Regions from separate parts of the Homo sapiens genome. Here region 1 is linked to region 2. Evidence: promoter capture Hi-C in human tissues and cell types (Jung and others, 2019). All regions are on one chromosome and are shown on one strand. The core of a region is centred on a gene start or on the middle of the fragment in contact, and the rest is flanking DNA. Distances in the headings are between cores, read along the strand shown.

Region 1 (4,134 bases), core at 1,260-3,759, 280 kb before region 2:
CCCGTCTCTACTAAAAATACAAAAAATTAGCCAGGCATGGTGGCGCATGCCTGTAATCCCAGCTACTTGGGAGGCTGAGGCAGAAGAATCGCTTGAACCTGGGAGGCGGAGGTTGCGGTGAGCTGAGATGGCGCCATTGCACTCCAGCCTGGGCAACAAGAGCGAAACTCCGTCTCAAAAAAAAAAAAAAAAAGATCATAACAACTGAAGAAAAGTTCGCAGTGTCCCATTACAAGGCTCAGTGCCATCTCTCAATGATGTCTATCTGGAATGTTCTTCCTCTCCTTTTCTGTCTGAGAAAGCCCTGATCCTTCTTCAAATCCAAGCTTGGTTCTCGTGGTTCTCAGCCTCCTCCTTAAAAATGTTTTTGTTGTTGTTGTTTTGAAACAGGGTCTGGCTCTGTTGCCCAGGCTGGAGTACAGTGGCTCAATCATGGCTCACTGCAGCCTCTACCTCCTTCCACCTCAGCCTCCTGAGTAGCTAGGACTACAGGTGTGTATCACCAGGCCTAGGTAATTTCTTCCAAACAATTTTTATAGAGGCCAGGCATGGTGGCTCATGCCCGTAATCCCAGCACTCTGGGAGGCTGAGGAGGGCAGATCACTTGAGGTCAGGAATTTGAGACCAGCCTGACCAACATGGTGAAACTCCGTCTCTACTAAAAATATAAAAAAATTAGCTGGGCATGGTGGTGGGCACCTATAATCCCAGCTACTTGGGAGACTGAGGCAGGAGAATCACTTGAGCCCGGGAGGTGGAGGTTGCAGTGAGCCAAGATAGCACCACCGCACTCCAGCCTAGGTGACAGAGTGAAGACTCCGTCTCAGAAAAAAAAAAAAAAAAATTATAAAGACAGGGTCTTACCACGTTGCTCAGGCTGGTCTCGAACGCCCGGGTTCAAGCGATCTGCCTGCCTCAGCCTCTCAAAGTGCTGGGATTACAGGTGTGAGTCACCGTGTCTGGCCTAAAATGTTCTTGATACACCATCACCAGATGCCAGGTTCTCTCTCCTTGCTCTGGGCTCTCCCTCACTTTAAACACATCTGTACTATCACAGCCCAGCATGTTACAACTGCCCCTCCTGCCAGACGGTAAGCTTCGTCATCCTCCTACCAAACACTCCTGTGCATCTTGCTGGCACCATCCTGAAAGCTTTACGTACATTAATCATTCTGTCTGACAACCACTCTATGAACTGGTTACTATTATTATCCTCATTTTACATATGAGAACACCAAAGAACAGAGGGGTAAAGTCACGGGCCCAGGGTCACCCAGCTAGTGGGTGGAGCAGTGAAAGCTGGCACCCAGATGGGCTGGCCCAGAGTCTGAGTTTCTCAAAGGCAGCTGCTCGTCTTTTCATCTCCGTCCACAAGCTTGGCTCACAGAAAGTTTGTCAAAACAAAAATTTAACTGAGTAAATATTATGCATAGAAAAAACAAAGCCTGATAGAAAACAAACCAAGATAGACTGACAGAAAACATGCCATTGAGTAGATGAGGGTGCTGGGTTTATGGGCTTTTGTTTTTTCCTTTTCCCTATTTTCCAGATGCTATGTAAAGCGATTATAGTTTTCAAAGGAAGTAGCAGTATAGGCTGAGCCTCTGGGGGCTGCAGCCGGGAAGATGGGGACCTGTGGGACTCAGGCCTGGCCTGGAAGAGCGCAGAGAGGCTACCCCGAGGACGGGCCCACAGGGACGCGGAGGGGTGCGCCCAGGAAGGGCAGAGAGTCAAGAGCATCCAGCACCCATGAGCCTCAGATTGAGGGAGAAAGTCACCAGGGGTGCAGTGAAATCAAAGAAAGATTCCACACACCCCTTCGTCAATGGCCCAGCCTGTGTACCCCCCACCAGAGCCTGGGGCTAGGGGATGCCCCCCACACACCCACGACAGCATGGCCACAGAAACGACAGGCTTGGCTGGCATCCAGCCTTCAGGGTAGGCAGGAGGACGAGATGACGCAATGGAGGGAAGGTGTCTGGGACACAGGCCGACTGTGGGCACACAAACAGTGGCCATTGTTATCACTAGGTGGAAGAAAGGAAATGACAGCCACGGGGCCACATCCTGGAACACTCACGGCATTGCCAACCAGGAAGGCGGGCCAGCAGGGAGAAAGTGCTCACACGTGCTTCCTTCTGTCCCTGCCACCTTGGACCCTGGAGCCTAGGCTCTTCCCAGCACAGCTGCAAGAGGGGGATGGTGGATGAGGGCCCCCCGCATCATGCCTCACTTCATCTCTCCCCCTGGCTTCTCACAGCGTCCTACCCTTGACCTTCCCGTGGGGTAGACAATCACTTTTCCCCACTGATGACCGGCCCCTCCTCCTCCTTACCTGGGCTTCTCCCTGCACCCCCAGGATGCCCAGGTCACCTGACACAGACCGCACCTCGGCTGTGTCAAGCAGCTCTCTCAAACACCACAAGCAGAAAGACAAAGACCCAAGACCTTTGGTGGTGGGGGTTGACAGTGACAATTCTGCCTGTCCAAGCCAGGCAATTTCCAGGTACCAATTTTGGTGCCCCTGCTGAGGGAAGCCAGATATTTCTGGCCGTTTTCCTTATCTCTGCTCACCCATCCTCTGTCAAAACCAAGCTTGCCTGCTGGGTTCATTGAGGGAAGACTGACAGAGAGTGTGCTGGTGTGAGGGTCCCCTGGAGGAGCTGAAGGACGGGAGGAACAAGTATTATTATCCCATCTTCCCATCTCAGAGATCAAGAAACTGAGGCCCAGAGAGGCCCTGAATTGTACATGTTCAAAGGGCAAATTAAGGCCGGGCACAGTGGCTCGTGCCTGTAATTCCAGCATTTTGGGAGGCTGAGGCAGACGGATTGCTTGAGCCCAGGAATTTGAGACCAGCCTGGGGAACATGGCAAAACCCTGTCTCTACAAAATATAAAATAAAATTAGCTGGGCATGGTGGTGTGCGCCTGTGGTCCCAGCTACTCGGGAGGCTAAGGCAAGAGGATTGCTTGATCCTCTTGAGGTCGAGACTGCAGTGAGCCAAGATTGCACTACTGCACTCCAGCCTGGGAGACAGAGCAAGACCCTGCCTCAAAAACAAAACAAAACAAAGGGCAAATTAAAGTTGATGTCCACCAAAAAACAAAAACAAACGGGCTGGGCGCAGTGGCTCACGCCTGTAATCCCAGCACTTTGGGAGGTTAAGGCGGGCGGATCACGAAATCAGGAGATTGAGACCATCCTGGCTAACATGGTGAAACCCCGTCTCTACTAAAAATACAAAAAAAATTAGCTGGGCGTGGTGGCGGGTGCCTGTAGTCCCAGCTATTCGGGAGGCTGAGGCAGGAGAATGGCGTGAACCCGGGAGGCGGAGCTTGCAGTGAGCCGAGATCATGTCACTGCACTCCAGCCTGGGCGAGAGCGAGACTCTGTCTCAAAAAAAAAGAAAGAAAGAAAAACAAACGAAGAAACAAAAAACCTCGAGTGGGAACAGAGGGAGATTGGAGCCAATGGTAGCATCTCTGATGAGTTCCCTGGAAGTGACTACCTGGGTTCATAAAACAGTCAACAGAGAGACCCAAGACCAGTCCCTGTCTCGCCAAGTGCACGGTCCCCTGAGGGAAGGACCCCTAAAGGGGATGACTTTTTAGCTGAACTTTCCAGGAAGAACAGGAGTTTGCCAGCGGGGGAAATGGCGAGAGGCCTTCACAGCAGATGAAGCAGATCAGAACACGGAGGAAGGCAGAGATCAGGGGCTTGCTCAGCCCACCCATGAACGGTGAGCATTTTCACTGGGACTGGACGGCTCGAGAGGGGAAGGTGCTGAGAGGAGGGGCCGTGGTTAGTGCTGTGATCAACGTGAACACAGGTCACCTGGAGCCACTTGTCCAGGGCTGCTATGTCAGTCACGCCCCTCGCCATGCCCAGGGAAGCTCCTCTCATGACGAGGAGCCAAGCCCCGGAAGAAGTGCAGTAGAGGACAAGGGACCAAGAGGGTGGCTCAGAGCGGGTGGTGAGGGAGAACTCAGTCCCAAAAATCTGGTTCCTCCTCAGCTACGAATTCCCTGAAGGACCCTGGGCAGGTCTCAGGCACGGGAGGAGCGGTCCCTGCCCTCTGATTGCTGCTACCTGCCGCAGCTGCCAGGCCCAGGCAGTCCCCTCTCCTCCCCT
Region 2 (4,545 bases), core at 1,405-3,904:
CTCGTGCAGGGGGAGCGGCGGCGGTGGTGATGTAATGCACTCGGCTTTCGTCCCGGTGCCAATCTCAGAAGAGAGACGACAGATTGCGTGAGCCAAATTTGGCATCCTAGGGGGAGAGGCATGAAAAGTGGAGATGTGGAGGAGCAGAGAGGAGCCTGGGGTGGTGCAGGAGGAGCCCCCTGCCCTACAGCCCCGAGGTGCCTCCCCTCCCTCCCCTCAGGGCCCCCATCTCTTCCCCAGCTAGCCTGGCCCTGGGGCCTCCCCTCCTCACTCTGAGGGGCCAGCCTGGCTTCTCCCCGGACCCCTTGAGCCCGGCACTGCCAGGCCTACCCGCCACCCCCACCCCACACTGCTCCAGCTCTGTTTCCCACCGCCGCTAGTTTCCTGGTTACCATGTTGCCGGTTGTCATGTCGCTTACATGTCCTCGTGACTCAGTGGTCCCCGCAGAGGGGCCCCCTCCTCCTCACACCCCCCTTAGCACTCGCCCCCGCCTCCCCCAGATCCACATTAAGAACCAGCCCGCCCTGTAAGCCTACACTGTTCCTCCTCCCCTTCCTTCTTATCCTAAGCTAAGACATCTTCTCACAGCATCTCCCAGAGCTACTTCATTCTCTCTTTCGCAAATGTCTACGAACCTACTATGCTCCAGGCTGGCGCACGCGGCTTTCACAGACCTGACACAGTCTGGAAACTGCTCAACACCCTGATGAAGTCAGTATCATCATACCTATTCTCCAGTTGAAGAAACTGAGGTTCAGAGAGGTCAAGCCACCCACCCAAGGTCACCCAGCAGAAACTCAACCAGCTCTGCCTGGTCACAGCCACTCCAGAGGATTTTCTGAGAGAAGAGCTTTCTTTTCAAGGATAACCCAAAGGGCCATGAGGAATTGTACCCCAGATTCCCCCTCTAATCCTGGACACTCCTCCTTCGTCAGCTATTTCCGCCATATTCCCACTGCCCCACGCCCACCTCCACCCACTAGCTGTTCATCTCTCTTAAGGTAAAGTGAGTCTTTACTCCCATCTCCCCAGTGCTTTCCCCAGCCTGTGAACAGCCCACTGCTCATTGAGCCCAGGGCCCGCCTTGGAGGTCACTGGGGCAGGGAGTGACGTCCCCATGCCACAGATGTGGAAGATGACGGTTGGGAGGAGAGTGACCAGCCCAGGGGGCTGCTCTCCCAGCCACCTGAGCTAATTTCTGGGAGGCTGAATGGAGGACATATGAGACCCACTGCCCAGTGTGGAACACCCCAGAAAGAGTCCCTCCTCCCAGTGAGAATGGAGTGGAATGTTCTAGGCTCAGCCCTTCCAACTCCAGTTGGGATATGGGTCAGTTCAGTGGCCAACAGTCTCTGTTCCCACCATGCTGCACCCATCTCTTACCCCAGCTGCCCTGGTCCACCTTTTGCTCCCCTCAGCACAGGCCAAGCCAGGGCCACAGTGAGGCTCTTGGGCCCCTAAAGTCCTGCTAACTGCCCCCAAAAGGCCTGAAGCCATGGAGGTCATGGGACTGGATGTGGGGGAGAACACACACACACACGGCTCCAACCCTTCTCTGGGCCTCCCTCCCTGAGTTCCCCACTTCCCCCAAACCTGCTGCTGAACATTCTACTGCTCTTGAGGCCCTGCTCTGTCAGCTGGCCAGGCTGCCCTGCCTCTAGCCCGCCGCTCCACCCCACCCAGCTTGCCACCTCCCAACTCCCTGCATCCTGTCCATCCTGAAGCAGGGACACTGGGGGCAGAAATGTGGGTAGGGGGCAGGGAGGCTGACACTGGTGGGGGGACATTTGGCAGGTTGCAGGGGAAGTTCTCCCTGCGGGAGGCTCATTGAGACCTCTCTTGCCTTGGGGTGCTCCCTACACACGGAGGAAAAAGCAGCCTCTGCCTCCCTCCCCAGCCTGTGTCTATCACTGTGAACGTGCAGTGCCTCCTCTACCAATCCCTGCCCCTGCGCCCTGGGGTCGTGTGGCGCCAAGTAGGTGCTCAAAACATGAGAAGTGAGATTTCGTTCTTCAGATCACAGGGCCATTTGCAACGAGGATGCAGCTGGGGAGGCGGAAAGGCGGCATCCCCCACCTTGCCACAAGTCACCTGCCTTGAAGCTCCCCGGCATGACAACTGGGGTGGGTGGAGGCAGGGAAAGGTCATGGCTGGGGCAGGAGGTCAAGACCCCTTCCACCCACCTCTCTCCCCCTTTCCAGGCCACAACCCAGACCGCGACGCTCCCAGACGGACAGACGGACAGAGCCCGCCCGTGGAGCCCGCCCGCTCCCGGGGAGTCACGGGACCGCGCGCGCGGCGCCGGGCAGCCGGGACCCGGCTCCGGATCAGGTGCGGAGCGGGCGGGGCCGGAGCGGCGGGCCCGGGACACACAGACACGCACGCGGCGGGACAAACTGACGGACAGCGCCCGGGGTGGGCGAGCGCGGCTTACCGCTGGGCGGAGGGTCCGACGAGAGTCCGGGAGGCGGCGAGCGGGCGCTACATCCCAAGGCGCGATCCGGCGGGCGGCGTCCCGGGCGCGGAAAGGGGAGTCCCGGCGCCCCCTGCCCGCGAACTCGGCCGGCCGGCCCGCGCTCCCCTCCCCGGCTGCCGCTCGGTCTGCGCGTGGGTCTTGGGGTCTCCGCGCGTCCCGGCCGTCCCGCGCCGCTCCCCGCGGGCCGCCCAACTTTCAGCGCTGCCCCGCGCCGCGCCCTCGGCGCCGCCTCGGCGTCAGCATCGTCGGGCCCGGCCGGGCTCACAGCGCGGGGGTCCGGGGGCCCGGGGCGCCCCGCCGCCCGCGCCCCCCACCCCCGCTGCAGGCGCCCTCCCCGCCGCCGTCCCCCGCTGCGCCCAGCTCCCTCGCTGTCACCCGCTCCTGCTCGCGCGCTCTGCCCCCGGCCCTGCGCTCCACTCCCGGCCCCGCTGCGCTCGGCCCCGGCCCCGCGACCCCTCGGCCTCCCGGCCTGGGGTCGCCCTCCCCGCCCCCGCCGGCCGGGCTCTGTCGCCACCTCCCCGACCGCTCTCGCGTCTCTCTCCTGCCGCCGGGGTCTCCGCCGCGCTCGCGTCCCGGTCCCTCTCCCGGCCTCCCTGCCTCCTGCGGCCCCGCTCGCCCTCTGCCCGCGGGGTCTCCGTCTCCGTCGCGGTCGCCCGCCGGCCTCCCCCCGCCTCCCTCTGCCCGCGCTGCCTCTCTCCCCTGCGCGTCTCTGTCCGTCTCCCTCGCGGCCCCTGTCCTTCTCTGTCTCTCCCCCTCCCACTCTCCGTGCGGCCCCCTCTGTCTCGGACCCCGGCCCCCGCCTTGGCCGCGTCCCCGGCTCGCCCGGGAGCCCGAGCTCCCGCCGCCCGCGGCGCGCCGAGAACTCCCAACTCGCGGCACGCCGCCCCGCTTTGCGAGACTTTCGCCCCTCCTCACACGTGACCCGCGCCCCACTGCGGAGGCCGCGCGCCCCCCAGCCCGGGAGCCCCGGCTGCCCGCGGGACCCCGCCCTGCCCGCCCCTCGGCCTAACCCGGCCTCAAGCCCCCTCCCGCGGGGCCCGCGGCGCGGAGCAGGGGCTGGGGCGGGGGGCTGCTGGCCCCGCTCCTGCCCTGGATCCTGCCCGGGTTTTCCTCCTCGCCCCAGGAGCGCTCCTCCCAGAACCCGTTCCTGGATCCGCTCCCGGGTTTTGTGCCCCCCCCCCAAAAGGGGGCAGGTGGAGAGGGTTCCTCCGAGCCGGGAAGGGGGGTGGGTGGGAGCTGGTCCCTCTGGGGTCCCACGGAGTCCGCCCCTCTCCTTAGCGGTCCTCGTACTCTCCCAAAGTACCGCCGGTCAAGGACCCGAAGCACCTCACTCTGGGAGTCTGAGGGGGCCCTATTGGAGGGACCCTCGCGATCACTCAGTCACCACTGCCCCATTTTACAGATGGCGAGACTGGGTACCAGAGAGGGTCAGAAACTCGGCCAAGGTCACCCAGAGATGACAAAGCCAGGCCAAACCCTAGTCTCTTATTCTCTGTCGCTCTCCATTACCCCAAGCTGTCAGGCCTGGGCCCCACACTCTGGGGTGTCAGGGAACCCCCAGCACCCACAGCACCTGTCTAGCCAGCTACATCCTGACCATCCTGCCACGTCACTCTAGCCCTCCGAGGAGACAGGAGGGAAAGTGCTCCTCCTTCCAGGGTGGTAGGACGAGAGAACACCTGCAGTTAGACAGCCAGCAAAACTTCCCTGGGAGTCTGGCCATCACCGACTAGCCCCATTACAGAGAGGGAGAGACCGAGGCACCCCAAAGCCAGGTGGAGAACTGATGAAATCTGAAATCCCCTCTGGCTCTCCTGAGCCTCGAGGATGTCAGCATAAGAACAGCAACACACAAACCACCACAAGTGTTTCCCTTCCTCGTGGGCTCTCCCTACTCAAAAGGATTCAGTCCCAACTCCTCAGTGTGGTATAGTCAGGCCCCACCTTATCCGGCATCCCACATCCCATAAATCCACAGGTACACCCTGATTCCACAGATTCCAGAACACGCCACAGGCCTCCACACCTCTCTGCCTGCACGCACTGTTCCTCCTCACTAAGATATCCT

What was found. The method cuts DNA at HindIII sites, captures the fragments that hold promoters and counts their contacts. A contact is called where the count stands out against the background at its distance.
Region 1: a contact is called between a fragment that was not itself captured here and the fragment with the promoter of KCNJ4 in region 2, in 3 of the 25 tissues and cell types used here (dorsolateral prefrontal cortex, heart left ventricle and lymphoblastoid cells).

Annotation. Positions count from the first base shown.
Region 1 is chr22:38,170,997-38,175,130 of GRCh38, forward strand. The region is part of intron 1 of PLA2G6 (phospholipase A2 group VI); the gene reads right to left. Among named protein-coding and RNA genes, the nearest start is that of PLA2G6, 8.8 kb to the right of the region's middle. RefSeq lists an enhancer at 3,114-3,258 and a cis regulatory region at 3,186. The HindIII fragment of the contact is 3,596 bases long and covers 712-4,134 here.
Region 2 is chr22:38,452,545-38,457,089 of GRCh38, forward strand. KCNJ4 (potassium inwardly rectifying channel subfamily J member 4) reads right to left here and starts at 2,655. Exons shown (of 2, transcript NM_152868.3): 1 at 2,436-2,655. RefSeq lists an enhancer at 1-551. The HindIII fragment of the contact is 19,664 bases long and covers 1-4,545 here.